2 separate regions of the Homo sapiens genome follow, and region 2 is linked to region 1. The links are contacts of gene promoters, found by promoter capture Hi-C in human tissues and cell types (Jung and others, 2019). All regions are on one chromosome and are shown on one strand. The core of a region is centred on a gene start or on the middle of the fragment in contact, and the rest is flanking DNA. Distances in the headings are between cores, read along the strand shown.

What was found. Contacts are between HindIII fragments. The study calls those that stand out against the background at their distance.
Region 2: a contact is called between a fragment that was not itself captured here and the fragment with the promoter of BANP in region 1, in 1 of the 25 tissues and cell types used here (dorsolateral prefrontal cortex).

What each region holds. Positions count from the first base shown.
Region 1 is chr16:87,950,156-87,955,098 of GRCh38, forward strand. BANP (BTG3 associated nuclear protein) reads left to right here and starts at 1,279. Exons shown (of 14, transcript NM_001386991.1): 1 at 1,279-1,360. RefSeq lists enhancers at 635-944, 1,204-1,846 and silencers at 1,135-1,434, 1,445-1,564, 1,595-1,654, 1,675-1,774. The HindIII fragment of the contact is 14,887 bases long and covers 1-4,943 here.
Region 2 is chr16:88,092,845-88,097,650 of GRCh38, forward strand. No RefSeq gene overlaps it. Among named protein-coding and RNA genes, the nearest start is that of LINC02182, 99 kb to the right of the region's middle. RefSeq lists an enhancer at 1-550. The HindIII fragment of the contact is 3,897 bases long and covers 1,170-4,806 here.

The sequences.
Region 1 (4,943 bases), core at 29-2,528:
CGTGAGCCGCCGCGCCCGGCCAGCATTTTCTTTTTCCCAGTGAAAATAGCTGCCTCGCCCTGTGTTTGGGAGCTCAAAGGCATTCTTGCTCATTGCAAATAATTGAGGAAACAGAGGCGAGTATAAAGAAGAAAATGAAAGGCAAGGTAATCCTAGATTAGCAGAGGGAGATAACCAGGAATGACATTTCTGGGAACTGCGCTATGGTTTGGGAATTTTTTCCTGTGATTACCCACAAACGCACATTTGCACATTTATTCTACGTGTGCACATTCACGTCATCACTTTTTTTTTTTTTGAGACAGAGTCTCGCTCTGTCGCCAGGCTGGAGTGCAGTGGCGCGATCTCGGCTCACTGCAACCTCTGACTCGCGGGCTCAAGCGATTCTCCTGCCTCAGCCTCCCGAGTAGTTGGGATTACAAGGCGCCCGCCACCACGCCCGGCATAATTTTGTATTTTTAGTAGAGACAGGGTTTCGCCATGTTGGCCAGGCTGGTCGCGAACCCTTTACCTCAGGTGTTCCGCCCGCCTTGGCCTCCCACAGGGCTGAGATTACAGGCGTGATCCACCGTGCCCGGCCGCCATCACTTATTTATATTATGTGTTACCTATAGGACTTATCTAAGACCATAATCACTGCCGCGTGTGCTAAGTCCCGCGCGCGTGCACTCAGGCCCCTCTGGATAGACACTGGGGACCCCTGACCACTTATGTCAGGGAAAACGCCACCAAGCGCTCCGGAACCTCAGGGCAGGACCCGCCGCAGCAGCAGGTAGGACCCGCTGGGGGCGCACAGCCCACCTGAGACATCGTAACTACAAGTCCCAGCAACCCTTGGTGCGGGGACAGGACGGGCCACCGGAGTCCGGAGAGACTACAAGTCCCGGCAGGCATGGCCCAGACGCAGGGACTACGAGTCCCCGAATGCATGGCTCCCAGCTTGCGCAGGGCACCCTGGGAGGTGTAGTAGTTGAGGGAGCTAATGCGTATTCATTCCGTCTCAAAGAAGATGCAAATTCCTCAGACCGTCCACTGAGGTGATTGTTCTCACGCAGGCCATGGGCGTGGGCGAAAAACGGGGGGAAAAAAGCCCTGGGAAGCCGGTACCGTCGCGGAAGAAGGCCGCCTGCGCATGCTCACCAGGAGGCCGAGCGGGAAAAGCGCGCGCAGCTGGCCTCACTGCCACAGGGGTGCCCCGCCCCCGGGCCCGCGCGCCCAGTGAGCCTGCGCGGAGGGCGGGGGCCGAGCGTCGCGGGGAGGGGCTCGCGGCGCCTGCGCAGAGCGGCGGCTTCTCTCGCGAGGACGGACGCCATTATCGCATCTCCCCGACAAACACCACGAGAATTCCGCAGCCCACACGGTAATTGCAGCTCCCGCAGCCGGTCGCGCCTCCGCCTCCCCCTTCCCGCGGGGCGAGAGCGAGAGCGAGATCTCCCTCCTCCCTCCTCCTCCCGCCCGCCGGGCCGCCCGCGCCGCAGCCCCGCCGCCGCCAACCGCCCGGGCCGGGCGATCGCCCCCCGGGCCCCGCTCCCCGTCCCCGGCCGCGCCCCGGAAGAGGGGCTCCCGCTTCCTCGCTTCCGCACCCCCGGCCCCACCGCGCCCGGCGTCCGTTGAGCCGCGGCTGCCGCAGCCCGGCCCGGGGGCCTCGCGCTCCCGACCTCTGTCCCGGGCCTCGCCCCGCGGGAAGGACCCGGAGCCACGGCGGGGAGACTGGAAAGGCCTAGAACCGCGCCCGGGCTCCTCTGGGGCCCGAAGTCTCCCAAGGGGGTCGCTCCTGCCAGCCAGGCGGGAGCGACAGGCATCGTTTTTGTGCCTCCTCCGTGGCTGTGGACCGGAGCCCCATAGCCCAGGACTTGCACACGCAAGGGGCGCTCTCGGGGACCGCAGACCTCGGCGACGACCCCAGCCCGTCCCCCGAGGGGCCCCGATGAACGAGGACCTCGGGGTGCCCCCTCCCCAGCACGTTTGTGCGATTTCTGTGATCTAGTCCTTAAGGAAGGTGGCCGTTTTCTTTTTCCCCCCTAGGATGCAGAAAGTAGATGACATTCCATCCACACTGTGTGAGCAAATTGGAGAGATTGCCTTGATAGAGGACTGATGTTTTTCACTGATGAGATGGTAGGGGTTGTCTTGCTATTGGAGAAATACATCATCCCTGAAGAACTGTGAGCAAGTGGAGCGAGTGTGGGCTTTGAAGGGTAGCGAGCTTGCACCCTGACCGGGGAGGGCCCGGGTCACACAGTTGTTGATGTGGAACAGGTAATTGCCCTGTTTGGAGTTGCCTGTTCTGCCCAGGAATGTACTCCAGGGCCTGATGGCGATGCTGGAACTCGCACTACAGTAAATAATTGATAAGAGGAGGCAGTTGTAGGGTTCACTTTTAGCTGGAAGTTCTTAGGGGACAGAAAAATAACTTGGAGTAGTGAGTGGTTCTGAGTAAGCTCAGGAAACGTCAAATAAAAACTGGATCTGGTCATTTAACACGCAGCTCGCAGATATCCAGTGCTAGAAGAAAACACCAAAACGCGGTAAAATTCTGTATGTGGGTCCACTTCCCGTGTCTGGCGATTAAAATAAGAATATATTCTTGCGATGTTGGATTCTGTCATCATTGGCGTTAATATTTTTATTTTTTTGGAGATAGGGTTTCACTCGGTCCCCGAGACTGGAATGCAGTATCGTGATCTTGGCTCACTGCAGCCTCGGCCTCCCTGGCTCAAGTGATCCTCCCACCGCAGCCTCCTGAGTAGCTCGGACCACAGACGCCACCACCCCGGCTAATTTTTGTATTTTTCGTAGAGAGGGGGTTTCGCCTTGTTGTCCAGCCTGGGGCTTTAATCTTTTTAAAAAAGAGCTTCCATTTGTGATTCCACGCTGCGTGGGGGCAGCTCAACATCTCGGGTGCTTCATCATGACCCAGGAGGCAGAGGCTGCGTCCACTTTATAGATGAGGTGACTAGGCCCGCAGACACTAAGGGACTTGCTCAGATTTACAGAGCCAGGGTTCGAATTCAGTCTGTCTGAAGCCTATGTTCTTAAAAAAAAAAGCCCATATATTTAGTATTTTAATCAATATAATGTATACAATAGGAACGTCAATGAAAGACTTACAATGAAAAGCAATGGTCCCCTGCCCCACCTCTCAGCCCCGTTCTTCAAAGAGGTTTACATCTTGAGTGGTTTCTTTAGGTCATTCTCCACAGCTCTGAGTAAGCTGATCCTTTTTATTTTTTTCTTGAGATAGGATCCCCTGATGTTGCCCAGGCCGTACTCGAACTCCTGAGCTCAAGTGATCCTCAGCCTCCTTAGTAGCCGCTAATACAGGTGTGAGTGACTGCACCTAGCTCTAAGCTGATATTTTGTATTACACAGCCTTGTCTTTCTATTACGATGGGGTGATGGAGCCCTTCTGTCATATCCCAACTCTTCTATCCCCTGGACTGTCTGTGTTAGGCCTATGCAAATACTGTTCTCTTCACGGACAAATTGAGTGTTTCCCTTCCTGTACAGCGTGGATTTTTCTGTTAGTCATGGCTTTTCTCTTGGCACTTTCTGTTCCCATCGACTCCTTACATTGTTTTAAATTCTCAAGGATAGTGTCAGGTCCCCTTTCTCCTTCAGCCCCTGTCCTTCTCATCTGGATGGGTTAGCTTGCACACGAGCCAGCCTGATATTTTCCTTTCTTCTGTAGCTGGGTATGTTCAGGAATGTTTTCATCTTGGCTCTGTTCGTTTCCACAGGAACCTCTGGCAAGTGCTCTTCCTCCTTGTGGAGACCCCTCTCCCTCCCTGAACGCTCTTGGATCTTCTCTTTGGTGTTAATGATGTTTTACCCTTGTGTGTGCTGAGGTGTGTGGATTCCTACGCCGGGGACTCTGACTCTGGTGCTTTGTCCTTCAGCTCTGGGAAGTTCCCTTGTTCTGTCTGAGAAGTTCTTCCTCTCCAGCTCTGCTCTTCTGTCTTAGGAGTTCCTGTTTGTGATGGACGTTCTAGGTGGAGCCCTGGAGTTGCGTCTTTATCCTTCCTTCTGTGTCTCGTTTATTCTCATTCTGGGAGAGGGCTTTAATATGTGTTCACAATCAAATTTTTAATGTCCAAGCATGTATTTGTCTTGTTTCTTTTTCATAGTAGCTTATTGTTACACAAGTGCCTCATCTCCATGACTCTAAGGAAACTAATAAGGATTCTTCCCAGCTCTCCTTTGTTCTGATTTCTTGTTTCCACTAATGTCACTTAAAAAAAGTGTTGGCTTCTTCCTCTTTATGGCAAGTCCTCCATACTGATGTTTACTGTTGTCTGAGGCAGGAGGAAGCTGGCGGAGAGCCCCGGGTCTGTGGGGTGCTTTTGAAAGAGTCCAGTTTCCCCTCGGGTGATTGGGAGCCTGTCACCGTGGGACCTGGAGCACCAACTTGCAGATATTTTCTCTGGGCTGTTCCGCTTCTTTAGGAAGGCCCCTTTGCTGGCCGTGGGGGAGTTAGCTCTCCTGTGCGGGACCGACTTGGCAGGTGCGGGTTTGGCCTGCCCGCAGGGCTCTGCGAGGCTTGGAGCCCCACGCCTGTGCCCCCGGTGCTTTCCCTCTGCCCTGATCGGGTCCTCTGCATCTGTCAGGAGTGTGTTCTTTCTTGTGGGTTGATAACACCCTATTAAAGATGATGTTAATGGAGTGAGAGGAGGTCACCCGTACGGCCAGTCACTCCCCTTGAGCAGGAATTTGCAAGCCTGTTCTATTCACTCCACCTTCCTGCTTCCTTGTGGCCTTGGTAATTGCCCACAGTCAACGGGGTGAGGTGCCAAGCCGCCGTTCCACAGCCGCCTCTGAATTGCAGCGTGGGCTGGTGGCTCTGGCCCTGTGGCCTTGGAGGGCTGCCAGCGTACCTGGGCAAGGCCCGGCAGACCCGTGTGGTAGCAAAGACCCTGACTTTGGCTCCTCGCTGGGTCAGTGTG
Region 2 (4,806 bases), core at 1,868-4,367, 140 kb after region 1:
CCCTCCTGGCCATTCTTGCAGGCCTGCCCCAGCCTGTGCCTTCTGCTGGGGCAGGGCCTCAGGCAGCAGTGGACAGTGGCCAGGAGGGCGCCGCTCAGGTTGGGAGAGGCCCGTGGGGGATCAGCCTCCCCGGATCCCGGGGTGGGGCCTAGTTACACACAGAGATAATGCAGACTCAGGCAGTGCGCAGGCAAGGCCGGAGTGCCGAGTATGGTACAGGAAACGCAGTGTGCGCAGCTGCGCTGCACCGTGGTCCACACAGCCAGGCTCTTTGGTGTGTTTCCTGCACACAAGGACATTCACAAGCCCTCAGCATCGTCAGAATCAGGGAGTGGACAGGTCCCTGCAAGGCCCCACTGCAGCCTGACCACTGTCCCCACGAGGTTCTGAGAGCGGAGTCTGATGGTGTCACGCCCTTCCCCAAGCCGCCGTCTCTCCTCCATCTCTGTCAGCCTGTGCAGGCTCCTGGCCCCTCCGTGCTGTGGGCACTCGGACTGCTTTGCCTCTGGATTCCTGGTGATGAGATCCTGGGTGGGCGGGGACAGCAGGGGGCGAGGCTGCGCTTCTGCAGGTGTCCTGGCGGCGGGTGTAAAATCTCACCCTGGGCGGTCTCTGGTGACGTGAACGCTGACGGTTTAATTGATGCCGTGTCTGCAGCCTCCCCTGCAACGCTGTCCTTTCTCTCTATTATGATTAATCCGTGTTCTGTGGGGCGTCCTTTAAAGCCATGGGGACATCCACGCGCACCAGGCTTCCAGCTGCTTGTCTGAGCCTGAGCTGTGGGGCCGCTTGTGCCCCAGGCCATCTCCTGGCACTGTCAGCTCCCACCATCCCCCCACAACCCTCCCCATCAAGCAGGCTCCTGAGTGCTCGGGCACGGCCTCGTAGCCCTGGAGGGTCGCGATCTCCTACAAGCCTCTGGTGTTTTCCCTGCCCAGGCTGGAGCTGGCCAATTCTCCCAGGAGTCCTGGCCACTTTGAATGGAACACGGTACTGAGAAGCCGAGGTCTGGGTGCTCGGGATGCTCATGCCCATGGAGGCCGGGACGTCAAGGGGCTTCCAACTCCAGCCTCTCATGGGATGGTACAGCGGCCTGGGCAGGGGCGGAGCTGAGAACAGAATTTCACCCCCGAGGTTCTCGGACTGGAGCTCCAGAGGAGCCGCTGCCCAGGGGCACTTACCGTGTCCTTTATGAAAACAGAAAGTTGAAAACCCCAGATGTCTAACAATGAGCGAATGATTTGGCGAGCTGTGGCTCGGGGTCTGCCATGAATTCTTGGCTCCTGGACTGTGGACTGGGGGTGGAGGACACCAACAGGAACTCTTAGAGGGAAGCTGGAGGAGGTGGGGGAGACAGAGCTTTGGAAAAAGAGCTTCGACTTTGCTCTTGGGTGGAGGAGACGAGGGGAGGGCACGCAGCCAGGGACCACGGGCCGCAATGCTCCCTCCTTCCCAGGGTCCACGGGCGGCAATGCTGCCTCCTTCCCCGCGTCCACGGGCGGCAATGCTCCCTCCTTCTCAGGGTCCACGGGCGGCTGGTGCTTTTTCCTTGCCGGCGTCCACAGGCAGCAATGCTCCTTCCTTCTCAGGGTCCACAGGCAGCAACACTCCCTCCTTCCTGGCATCCAGGGCGGTCGGTGCTCCCTGCTTTCCAGGGTTCCAGGGGAAGTCCCACCCCCTGAATCTTGGGAGCTGGGGAAGAGGTGGGACCCTCGAGGACAGGCCGTAGCCCTCATAGCCAGCCACCCCTAAGGGAGCATAGCTGCTCCACACGGCGGAATTCTCTCCGCACAGACAGCGCAGCCCTGACGCCTCCAGACACCCCTTCTTGCCGATGCCCTTTTCTAGCTTGATCTTGATGGTTCCTAGAGCCTGGGGGTCAAGTGTTCCCTGGCTCGCTTCCTGTAACATCAACTGGAACTTTTCAATGTGGTCTAAAAATAATCCCACCAGCACTTTGGGAGGCCAAGGCAGGAGGATCGCTTGAGGTCAGAAGTTCGAGTCCAGCCCGGGCCACGTAGCAAAACCTCACCTCTACTAAAAAAAAAAAAAAAAAAAAAAAAAAATTCAGCTGTGTGTGGTGGCTCACGCCTGGAGTCCTCGGAAAGCTAAGGCAGGAGGATCACTTGAGCCCAGGAAGTGGACACTGCAGTAAGCTACGATAGCAACATTGCACTCCAGCCTGGTGGACAGAGCAGACTCTGTCTCCATCATCATCATCATCATCATCATCATCATCATCATCATCATCTCTCAAGCATCAATAAGACCTTATTCTATAATGATGATGGTCACACAACTCTGAATAAAGACTAGTGAATTGTGCACTTCACATAGGTGAAATGTATAGTATATTAATTATATCCAAGAAAGCTGTTTATTTCTAAAGGGATTTATCATTCTAATAACAAAAATAAATGATAATAGTGTGACTCTTTGGCACTTTCATTTTTTTTTTTTTTCTGTTTGCTCCTTTGATCATCCAGCACATGGGTGGGAGAAGGCTGGGTTTCACTATCATCTCTGCCTTGCCAGTGGATGAAGCCCAAACCCCAGGTGGGAAGTGCTGGGGTGGAGACTTCAATCCAGGGACTCTGCCCAGGGCCTGTCCCATGTTTTCATGTCAGCTGGCATTTCGTCATCTTAGCCTGATCAGTCCTGTCTAAACTGGTCATTCTTGGGTTGAATCATTGGAATCCCTTTGGCCCTGTCACCGAATCCCCCTCTGGGACAATGCTGAGACAGCTCTGTGGCCTCCAAGATGAACCCACTGACCCACGCCTCCTGGGGTTTATCATCTTCCTACATTGACTCAGGGCTGATGTGTGTGGCCCGTGGAACATGGCAGAGCTGACAGTGTGTAACTTCCATGACTGAGCTGTACAAGGCAACATAGCTTCTGTCTTGGTCTCTCAGGCCATCCACTCCGAGGGGAGCCAGCCCCCATGCTGTGATATTCAAGTGGCCTCATGGCAGGGTCCATTTGGAGAGAACTGAGTTCTGGCCAGCAGCACCACTGGCCAGTGTGTGATGGAGTGACCTAGGAGTGACCTGGGAAGGCCAGCCCCAGTCAGGCCTTCAAATGAGACTGCAACTCCAGCTGATGCAAGACTACAGCTTCAGGAGACTTTCAGGCAAGAATGTTTAATCAAACCCCTCCAGAAATAGGGACTCTTATTCTATCAGCAAGATCATGGCCTGCAGTAATGTGGAAAGTGGCCCAATGAGCTGAATGATCAAGCTAGCAAGCTTTGTAAGGAGGGCACTGAGGGTGGCATATCTTGTACTTTATTTTATTTATTTATTTATTTTAAATAGTAATATTATAAAATAGAGATGGGGTTTTGCCATGTTGCCCAGGCTGGTCTCAAACTTCTAGGTTCAAGCAATCCACCTGCCTTAGCCTCCCAAAGTGTTGGGATTACAGGCATAAGCCACTACACCTGGCCTCTTGCTACTTTTAAATAAAATAAGAGAGGGAAGAGATAAACTAAAGGAAGGGCTGCTAAATATAAAAGAGATGCTTTCTGTCTGAAAACACTTTTTCTCATTCCCGGCCCCTCAAGGTGGCACACAATGCTGAGAATAGGAAACCCAGGGATGCAGGTCATTTAGGGAACAGGACAGGTGATGGTGGCAAGCCTCCCAGATGGCTCCAGTGACCCCCCCAACTCCTGTATTTGTCTGTGTGTGCTCCCCTCCCACACAGCAGGGCTGGTCTGTGTGGTCAGCATAGAGTACGGTGGTGGGCAACATGTGACTTCCCCTTGAGGCTGGATTATAACGGCATTGCAGCCTCCACTTGGCCTGTTGGCTCACTCACTCTAGAAGAAGCTGGCCACCATGCTGTGAGGACATCAGGCAGGCCCTGGAGAGTAACTGGGGCCCTCAGCCAATAGCCAGCACCAGCCCACCCACCTCGTGAGGGAGCCACCAGCCCCAGTCTAGCCTTCAGGTGATGCACCCCAAGCTGACATAAGACCACATGAGAGACCCTAAGGAAAACCGCCCTGCTGAGCACTTCCCACTTTCCTGGCTAACAGTCTGTGAGGGATAAAAAGTGATTTATGCTCTTTAAGCCATTAAGTTTTGGGTGTGTAGCAACACAGCAACAGATATAAAATATAGCAGCATATAAAAGACCTGCACAGAATTCCTATGGAAGTGGGGATGCACCATGGATTTGGACCAGGGACAGACAATATCATCTGTTTTTCCTCCCTGAAACCCTTCTTAATGATCCTGGAGTCAGGGCACTCCTATCAGAATCAATGACCTGCTTTGGGTTTTAATTCTAACCAGCACTGGCGTGTCCCCTCCAACATGCAAGGTATGAGAAGGACTTGCTTTTGGTTACTTAAACATGCCAGGCCATCTGACAACCTCACTAATGACAACCACTTTGCAATCTCACTGATTCTCACTTGGGTGGCCAGTGTTTGACTGGTGACTCTTCTAAAAAGTTGGACATGCCGTTACCCAGGGGTGTGCTCCGTGTCTGCCCCGTGGAGGAAATGCTTTGTCCAAAATGCCTAATCAGAGTCCTAGAGCCAAACCAGGGTGTCAGCCTTGGCTGAGCCCTGGAGACACCTGGGAGCTCTGAACATGCAGCTGCCCACCCCACCCCACCCCGGGAGCTGCTGGGAGCTGGAGAAGGTGGGAAGAGGCCTCCCCAGGGCCCTCAGAGGGTGCACAGCCCTGGAACAACTGGCTCTCAGACTCAGCCTCCAGCGAGGGAGAGGGTGAATTTCTGTCACATGGACCCCCCGGTTTGTGGCACTTTGCTGCAGCAGCCCCAGCACACGG